Linked DNA regions of Homo sapiens: region 1 is linked to region 2. Evidence: promoter capture Hi-C in 16 types of primary human blood cells and fetal thymus (Javierre and others, 2016). All regions are on one chromosome and are shown on one strand. Each heading gives the region's core, a stretch centred on a gene start or on the middle of the fragment in contact. The rest is flanking DNA. Distances are from core to core; before and after follow the strand shown. Region 1 overlaps SGPL1 (sphingosine-1-phosphate lyase 1). Region 2 holds the start of TYSND1 (trypsin like peroxisomal matrix peptidase 1).

Region 1 (4,288 bases), core at 1,153-3,652, 690 kb before region 2:
CACAGTGCTAAGTGAGTGAAGGTTGTATGGTCAAAACTGAAGTGCACACAAACCAGTTTTCTCAGGCTTCCATAACAACTCGTACCTCTCAAACTGCCTCCTTGTCTGAATGCAGCTTGCTGGGCCACAACAGAGACCTAGGGCCCTGAGTGTAAGTCTGTTATTCACTCAAGGAAATGTTCAAAACAGTAATGCCCTAATGATTTTACTGATCTCTATAGCTTCATTATAGAGTCAAGTTTCTGGGAAAGCTACTTCCCTACAGAAAGTTTCCCTTCATTCTCCTGTACAATGTCTTCTTGGCATTTCTTTTTTTTTTTTTTTTTTGAGACGGAGTCTTGCTCTGTCACCCAGGCTGGAGTGCAGTGGTGCAATCTTGGTTCACTGCAAACTCCACCTCCCGGGTTCAAGCCATTCTCCTGCCTCAGCCTCCCAAGTAGCTGGGACTACAGGCACCCGCCACCACTCCCAGCTAATTTTTTGTATTTTTAGTAGAGACAGGGTTTCACCGTGTTAGCCAGGATGGTCTCGATCTCCTGCCTCGTGATCCACCCGCCTCGGCCTCCCAAAGAGCTGGGATTACAGGCATGAGCCACCGCACCCGGCCTCTTCTTGGCATTTCTAATGTGCCACGTTTCCAGTGTGCCTCAACTCAGGGTATTTCTCAAGAGTCACTCAGGGCCAAACTGCATTAGCCTATTGCATTATGAGTTAATTTGTCCTAGAAGGAAAGAATTCAACTCTGGTTAGGGAGAACAACCAAATAATTTTAATATATGAACTCTCTATGGTACCAGGTGCTGATAAGAATACAAATTAGGAGGAGGATATAAGTCTTCTATCTCCTACACTGCCTAAAACAGCATCTTCAACACAGCAGGAACTCAACGTTTATTCAAATAAAGTAATTATGATATTGCCTATACTTTTGACAGTTTTGTTTTGCAAGATCCTAGGATGTTTCTGCCTCCTCTCTCCCACATCTCTCCTATTTAAGCTTAACAAGACACAGTGGCAGTGGGTTGAATCTGCAGAGGAGAATGGCTGGTTATCTGTAACTGGACTCTGCACACCGTGGCACTCTGCCTACAAGTTCACAAGGTTCATCACATCATAGGCCATCAGAGCTGAACCTGTCCTTCACAGATGAAGACATTGAGGCCTACAGGTCACAAAGCTCGGAAATAGCGGAGCCAGGACTCAAATCTTCTGGTTTAAAATGCATTGTTTTTTCCACTGCCTAGTTTTCCAGAGCCAAACTATCAGTGGCACAAATCAGGAGACCAACAGTTCTCAAAGTCCTGTCAGCTAGTTTACTCCAAGAGCCAAAGGAAAGGCTCTCATCTTCACTACGCTCCCAGTGAAGGCATACAGAACTTCCAGATGACCTAACGGCATCCTACAAGGGCTGAGCATTTTGGGGAAGTGAACTGCTATTGCATGGCCTTTTCGAACTGCAAACTTCATTCTTCTCTGAGCTAGAGACTTACACTCATACTACTTATTTGCTTACAAAAGAAAGACGGAAAGAAATTAGTTTGAAAAGTACTTCAGAAAAGTTGTCTTCAAAATCATAAAATGCTACTGTCTGAAGGAACCTTAGAGACCACCTATAGTCCAATCTCATTGCAGTGATGAAGAAACTGAGGCCACAGACTAATACCAAAATGTGCCTTCCCTGGTTTCAAACTAGAGGCACAGCCCCCAAGAGAATCTATCTTCTTCTTCAATATTCTTTCCATAAAGCCAGTGGGGGTACATCAATATCATCCAAGAAGCATGATTCCTGGAACGAATCATCTTCTTGGGTCAGAATACCCCACCCACAGGGTCAGAGTACAGAATGTGTATTTTGTAAACCTCCCTCCGGTGATTCTGACAGGCAACACTGCTTAAGAATCCATTCTCTTCCCCATCCTTTTCTTTTATTAAAAGATGACCCAGTAGCTGACTTAACATATTACTGACACCCAATCACCAAACTTAATGGCTACCCGGTATTCACGCAGCAGGGAAAAGACATCCACGAAGCTTTCCTGGGAAGTGTTAAAAGTCAGGGCCCAGTCACGTCACTCTACTAGATATCAATTCATTGTTCCTGCCTAATATTTATTCTTTGGCCAGATACTAATAAAAATCAAAATCTTCTACCCCACAATCCTGCAAAGAAGACAGAATTTGTTATTTGTTTTCCTGAACTATTCAACGCTCAATACTTTTTCCAGAAGGACCATAAATCTGAGCTTTACAGCAGGAATGGGCTGTTGAGGAAAAGAAAAATCTGTTCTACCCAGTTCAAATGTTACTCTAAGGACTAAGCCTCAGCCTAGGGAGTGAAGTTAAAATACAGAAGAGACTCAGTTAGTATATTTATTCTTATCAGCTTCTGCCCCCCCACCAAAAAAAGAAAAGCCAGAAAGCAAAGCTAATTTAATCTGATTTTCTTTCATATTACAGTCTACAGAACTTCAAAGTGCAAGGTAAACAGGTAAGAAAATACTATTGTCTTTATAGCCTCCAAAAGCATTAAAGTTTATCATCAAAAACACATCACAACCCCAAAGGGAAAATCCTCTTGGGTCATTAAAGAAGTAAGAACTGAGCAACAAAACCAGACAGCCATTCCAAGCAACCAGTAGTGACTGTGAGAAACGTTTGAGGAAACTGAATCATCATTTCTTAGGAGACAAAAAGCAAACCACATACTTCCCCCAAAATTCCACTATGTGAGTCAAGAGATCCAGTATCTGAGAAGTTCGTCTCAAAAAGCTTAAGAGTCTACATTTTCCCTTCTAGCCTGGCCTTGCCAGATATGTACACTTGGTACCATTCCCCAAGCACCAACTGCTATACACTTAGCATGGGAGTATTCAGGCAAAGCATCTTTCCATCCCTGAAATAACAAAACCATCTTGGCCACAGAAAGAACACACATATGAAATGTTCCCAAGTCATCAGAAGTGCACTCATGGAAAACCACAGCTTCTAAGTTCCTAAAAGCTGAACCCGAAACACTGCTAAATGGTCACTTTATTAATGTACTTGTGGTCAGGACAAGGCATCAAGTAAAGGGAGATGCTGATTCTGTTAAGTAACAATTCTGAGCACCTCTCTTCTGAAATACATATTTAAAAGTATCAGGAGCAGCTTATACTAGGAGAGAAGACTAAATGCATAAAACTGAATTCAATAAGCAGAGGAACACACTGAAGGACACAGAGATAAGAGCAATTACCAGTTTTGTAGGAAAATAGACTCCCAGCCTAAGGCAAGTAGGTAAGATATGGGGGGAAAAATATGCAAATTTGCACATGGAATGTTGCTAAGTTTGCTATGAACTCTCAGAGTCTGACAATAAATAGCTAAATGACTTACTGTGCACATGTATACAGGTTATATTTCAAAGCACAAATGAGTTTCATCATTCTCTAAAACTAGAAATGATAATTTCTTGGATAATAAGCAAGATCTAGTGGAAAAGATCCCGTATTTCTCACACAGAAAGAAGTCTTAACTTCTCTGAGCATATCACGATTGGGGAAGGGCAGAGGTTAGCTGACTTCTCCAGTCCCATACTTATCTTACTAACAGAATTCTCTATCTTTGTCTGGGAGTTAAGACACTTAGACTTTTCATAACCATTTGTGGAAATTCCTTCCCTACAACAGTCATGCTGCTATTAGAGATGAGGAATACTGAATATTTGCTGAGAAGTGTAACCTAACTAAAGCTATTTCTCTAGAGATTTCCAACACGTAAGCCTGCTCAAAAGAATAAGCAGGGACCTATCCCTAGGTCTCTGACTGACCTTCAACTATATAAACACCCTTTGGAAAGTGCATCTTCGAAATTACCAAGAACCTACTTTTAAAAGCTGAAGTAAGCAGCTGAGTAAATTTAATTTAAAATTAATACTTGGAAGAGTTTCAAACTTTGTGGTATCTATTGAAAGTGAGCAGGAAAGTGTGCTTCTGTGATGTTATACGTATATATTGGTTTGCATCCATGGTTCCTGGTTCATAACCCCCATAGCCCTTGTTATAGTCTTCTATTATAATGCTGGGGCACTTTGGGCCTCAGGAAACAGAATCTCTCTCAACCTTCTCCTGTCCTCTTTTACCTGCCTCAAAGCAAGACTCTAGTCCAACTGTGGGCCAAAAAACCCTCATTCCTGGGAGGGTTGTGCCCCATATTCTGGAGGAAGGAAGGCTGCACAGAAAGGCCAGCGACAACCTGAACAGACAGGCCTTGCTGGGTTTCCGGTCAGTCTATTAGTATGAGATCATGC
Region 2 (4,174 bases), core at 707-3,206:
CACCGTGCTCAGCTAGTTTTCAAAATTTTTGTAGAGTTAAGGTCTCATCATGTTGCCCAGGCTGGTCTCAAACTCCTGGGCTCAGGAAATTCTCCTACCTCAGCCTCCCAACGTGCTGGGATTCCAAGTGTGAGCCCCTGTGCTCCACCAAGAGAAAAACTCTTTGATTGCTAGGAAGTTGGGATAAAGAAATTGTGCTGTGATCAAGCCACCTTCTGTGTCATAGAACCAAAAGAAGACCGCCTGCTATGGCAAGATGGCCTAATTTTATTCCTGCCTCATACTATCATGGATAATCGTTTTCCTTTCTCTAGCAGGTTTGTGTCACTGGGAGTACTGGGAGCATTATCCTGTGTTGTGCTGGGGTTATACCAAGCAGTGTTAACTTTATTTAAAGAATTCAGGCAGAAAGATTAGAGAATTTAAGTAGCAATTGTATATGGTAAGCAATACAGTAACCTTAATAAAAATTAATGATGGCCGGGTACGGTGGCTCACGCCTGTAATCCCAGCACTTTGGGAGGCCGAGGCGGGCGGATCACAAGGTCAGGAGATCGAGACCATCCTGGCTAACACGGTGAAACCCCGTCTCTACTAAAAATACAAAAAATTAGCTGGGCGTGGTGGCAGGCGCCTGTAGTCCCAGCGACTGGGGAGGCTGAGGCAGGAGAATAGCGTGAACCCAGGAGGCGGAGTTTGCAGTGAGCGGAGATCGCACCATTGCACTCCAGCCTGGGCGACAGAGCGAGACTCCGTCTCAAAAAAATAAATAAATAAATAAAAAATAATGTGTATTTTATCAATTCAGTGATAAAGCAGACCTTTGTAAACTGTCTAGCTTGTGGTGACTGATTGAGGGTATCATGAAGCTCCGCGCCCCCCCACTCCCCGACATACTCGTTCATCCTCCTCTGTCCTAAAGCGTACTTCTTTGGAAAAGTAGAGCAGTTTATGTTAGTGTACACTAGAGATGGTAAACTATGCCTTGTGGGTCAAATCGGGCCTGCTGCCTGTGTTTGTATGGCCTGTGAGCAAAGAAAGGTTTTTACATATTTAAATGGTTGGAAAAAATATTTAAAGAATGCTATTTTTGGACACAAAAAATTGTATGAAATTAAAATTTCAATGTCTGTATCTTTTTATTGGGACACAGCCACCGCCATTCCTTTAGCTTTTGTATGCAACAGCTGCAGAGTTGACTATTTGAGACAAGTTGTATGGTCCCCCCAAACTGGAACTGTTTCCATTCTGGCCTTCTACAGAAAGTATTTGGACCCTGGCCTAGATAAATCCTGGCTGGTGGTTATGTTATGTGAAATGTGCACACTGTAAAATATAGGCCTGTATGATTAAAATTTTTGATTTCAGCTACTGTTCATAGTCGATTTAAAGGGCAATTTAATTTACAGCAAATCCAGTTTCTCGGAGATTTGTGTTGGGGCTTTGGCAGCAAAAAAAAATCCTAGGAGTAATCTTGAGAGTTCCATGCCCCCTAGTGGATTGCTATAGGGTTTACTTTTAAATTTTCAAAACACTGAATTGGCCAAGGATTTCCTTGGTCCATATTATCCCAAGGGTCAGAGGCTGAAGGTCGCCTAGACCTGGGCAGATGCTCACAGGTACTGTCGTGGCCTGGGCAAATCTAGGCACGTCAGCGCTCATTTCTATTCCCTTTCCCACATTCCAGCAAACGAGACTAGGCTTGAAGGGACCCACCCTCCTCTCCTCTGATTCCTCGTGACGCCGCACTCCTCTTACTCTCCCCGGGGCTCATCCGGGGGAATGGGGCAGATTATGTCCCACCGGTTGGACAAACTAACGAGGGCGGGGAAAGGAAAAAAAAAATCAGAATAGGAAGCCAATCAGAGCTCGGTACAAGCCCAGCCAATCGGGTCGGGTCAATTGGGGCTTAGCCAATCGGGCTCGATGAGGAAGACGTGAGTCAGAGCTTGCGCCTCTCGCTTCCAGCTGTGGGTGGCGCTAGGCAGCTTCAGCCGGACCGGGTAGGGGTCCTCGCTCGCTAGCTTGCTGTTTCTCGGAGAAGCTCCCGAGTGTCCGGCCTAGAGGCCATGAGAAGGCAGTGGGGGTCTGCCATGAGGGCGGCCGAGCAGGCGGGCTGCATGGTGAGCGCCTCCCGGGCCGGACAGCCCGAGGCGGGCCCGTGGAGCTGCAGCGGGGTAATCCTGAGCCGTAGCCCGGGCCTGGTGCTTTGCCACGGGGGCATCTTCGTCCCCTTCCTGCGAGCTGGCAGCGAAGTCCTGACCGCGGCCGGCGCCGTCTTCCTGCCTGGCGACAGTTGCAGGGACGACCTGCGCCTGCACGTGCAGTGGGCCCCAACGGCCGCGGGTCCCGGGGGCGGCGCGGAGCGGGGCCGCCCAGGGCTGTGCACGCCCCAGTGCGCGAGCCTCGAGCCCGGCCCACCTGCCCCGTCCCGCGGGCGTCCCCTGCAGCCCCGGCTTCCTGCTGAGCTGCTGCTGCTGCTGAGCTGCCCGGCCTTCTGGGCCCACTTCGCGCGCCTCTTCGGGGACGAGGCAGCGGAACAGTGGCGCTTCTCGAGCGCGGCGCGGGATGACGAAGTGTCGGAGGACGAGGAGGCGGATCAACTGAGAGCGCTGGGCTGGTTTGCGCTGCTGGGCGTGCGGCTAGGCCAGGAGGAGGTGGAGGAGGAGCGCGGGCCAGCCATGGCGGTGTCGCCTCTCGGGGCCGTGCCCAAGGGTGCGCCATTGCTGGTCTGCGGCTCCCCTTTCGGCGCCTTCTGCCCCGACATCTTTCTCAACACGCTGAGCTGCGGGGTGCTCAGCAACGTGGCCGGCCCACTGCTGCTTACCGACGCACGCTGCCTGCCCGGCACCGAGGGCGGCGGCGTGTTCACCGCGCGGCCCGCGGGGGCGCTGGTGGCGCTGGTGGTGGCGCCGCTCTGTTGGAAGGCCGGCGAATGGGTGGGCTTCACGCTGCTCTGCGCCGCCGCCCCCCTTTTCCGCGCCGCCCGCGACGCGCTTCACCGCCTGCCGCACAGCACCGCTGCCCTGGCCGCCCTTCTGCCGCCAGAGGTGGGCGTCCCGTGGGGTCTGCCCCTCCGAGACTCCGGGCCCCTGTGGGCAGCCGCGGCAGTGTTGGTGGAGTGCGGCACCGTATGGGGCTCCGGAGTGGCTGTGGCACCCCGCCTTGTAGTGACCTGTCGGCACGTGTCCCCTCGGGAAGCAGCCAGGGTCCTGGTGCGCTCCACCACCCCCAAGTAAGCCCGCAGGGCTGACGCCACTTCATCCCTTTCCAGGTCTCAGATCTGGGTCCAGCCCTAATACTCTTGAGTATTGTGCAGGCCTTTCTTGTGTCACGCGGATGCTTTGGGCGTGTAGTGGGTAGAGACCTGGAACCCTCCCCTCATCCTTTATACCCAGAACCCCTGTGGGGAGAATCTGGGGCAAGGTGTCAAGCTCGAAGCAGCTCTGGATTTGGGTACTGTGGGACACCCTGAATCCGGAACAGGGCATCTTTGAGCTCCCCTCAAAGGCTGAGTTTCTTCTGGGCAGCTTCACTGTCTGATAGCCCTGCACGCCATACCCCTCGGTTCTCTGGCCCTTTGAACAGAGATTCCCTAACCCTGCTGCTTCTCCTCTGAAAGTGATAAGGTCCCAGAGGCCCAGGATGGTGCTCTCCTGGGGTAAGGAGATGGGTATGTTAATTTTATCCATCTTTTAGTGCTTAGCCAGAGCTTCCCGTCTGAGTGAAACGTGAGTTTCTACGTAATCAGAAGGTAGGGGGGTGGCCCACGCAGCTGTACATGGTTCAGCCCAGCCTTGCAGCCCAGGCTTTTCCAAATCTCTTCCTGAATCCCCAAGCTTAGCCAGGTGTGGGTAACACTGCCCAGTTTTGCCATAGGTGTCCCCACTGTGGCCTATAGGACAGCCATGACTTTATAGGGAAGACTGATGATGAAGGTTTGCCTATGGTGTGTGGCCCCCACCAGATTCCTTCCACTCCCCCCACATGCCCCTTGCTCCTAAGGAGACTGCCAGGTCTGTTGGAAGCTACCCCTGCAGAGTGTGTAGTAGGACGCCCCTGTCTGATCCCGGGCAAGTCACTTAACCTGTCTAAGCTGCCTCCCCGGGAGTTGACGCTGAATGTCGTGGAACGGAGCCTGTCACGTCGTGTGCTACAGAAGTGTTAGCGTGTA

What was found. The method cuts DNA at HindIII sites, captures the fragments that hold promoters and counts their contacts. A CHiCAGO score of 5 or more calls a contact.
Region 1: a contact is called between a fragment that was not itself captured here and the fragment with the promoter of TYSND1 in region 2, in 1 of 17 cell types (naive B cells). The highest score is 5.0, in naive B cells.

What each region holds. Positions count from the first base shown.
Region 1 is chr10:70,831,775-70,836,062 of GRCh38, reverse strand. The region is part of intron 2 of SGPL1 (sphingosine-1-phosphate lyase 1); the gene reads right to left. Among named protein-coding and RNA genes, the nearest start is that of SGPL1, 18 kb to the right of the region's middle. The HindIII fragment of the contact is 738 bases long and covers 2,034-2,771 here.
Region 2 is chr10:70,144,482-70,148,655 of GRCh38, reverse strand. It overlaps TYSND1 (trypsin like peroxisomal matrix peptidase 1), which reads left to right and starts at 1,956. Exons shown (of 4, transcript NM_173555.4): 1 at 1,956-3,235. The coding sequence starts at 2,070. SAR1A (secretion associated Ras related GTPase 1A) reads left to right here. Exons shown (of 7, transcript NM_020150.5): 7 at 1-1,367. RefSeq lists silencers at 2,185-2,494, 2,825-3,054 and an enhancer at 2,645-2,694. The HindIII fragment of the contact is 18,251 bases long and covers 1-3,841 here.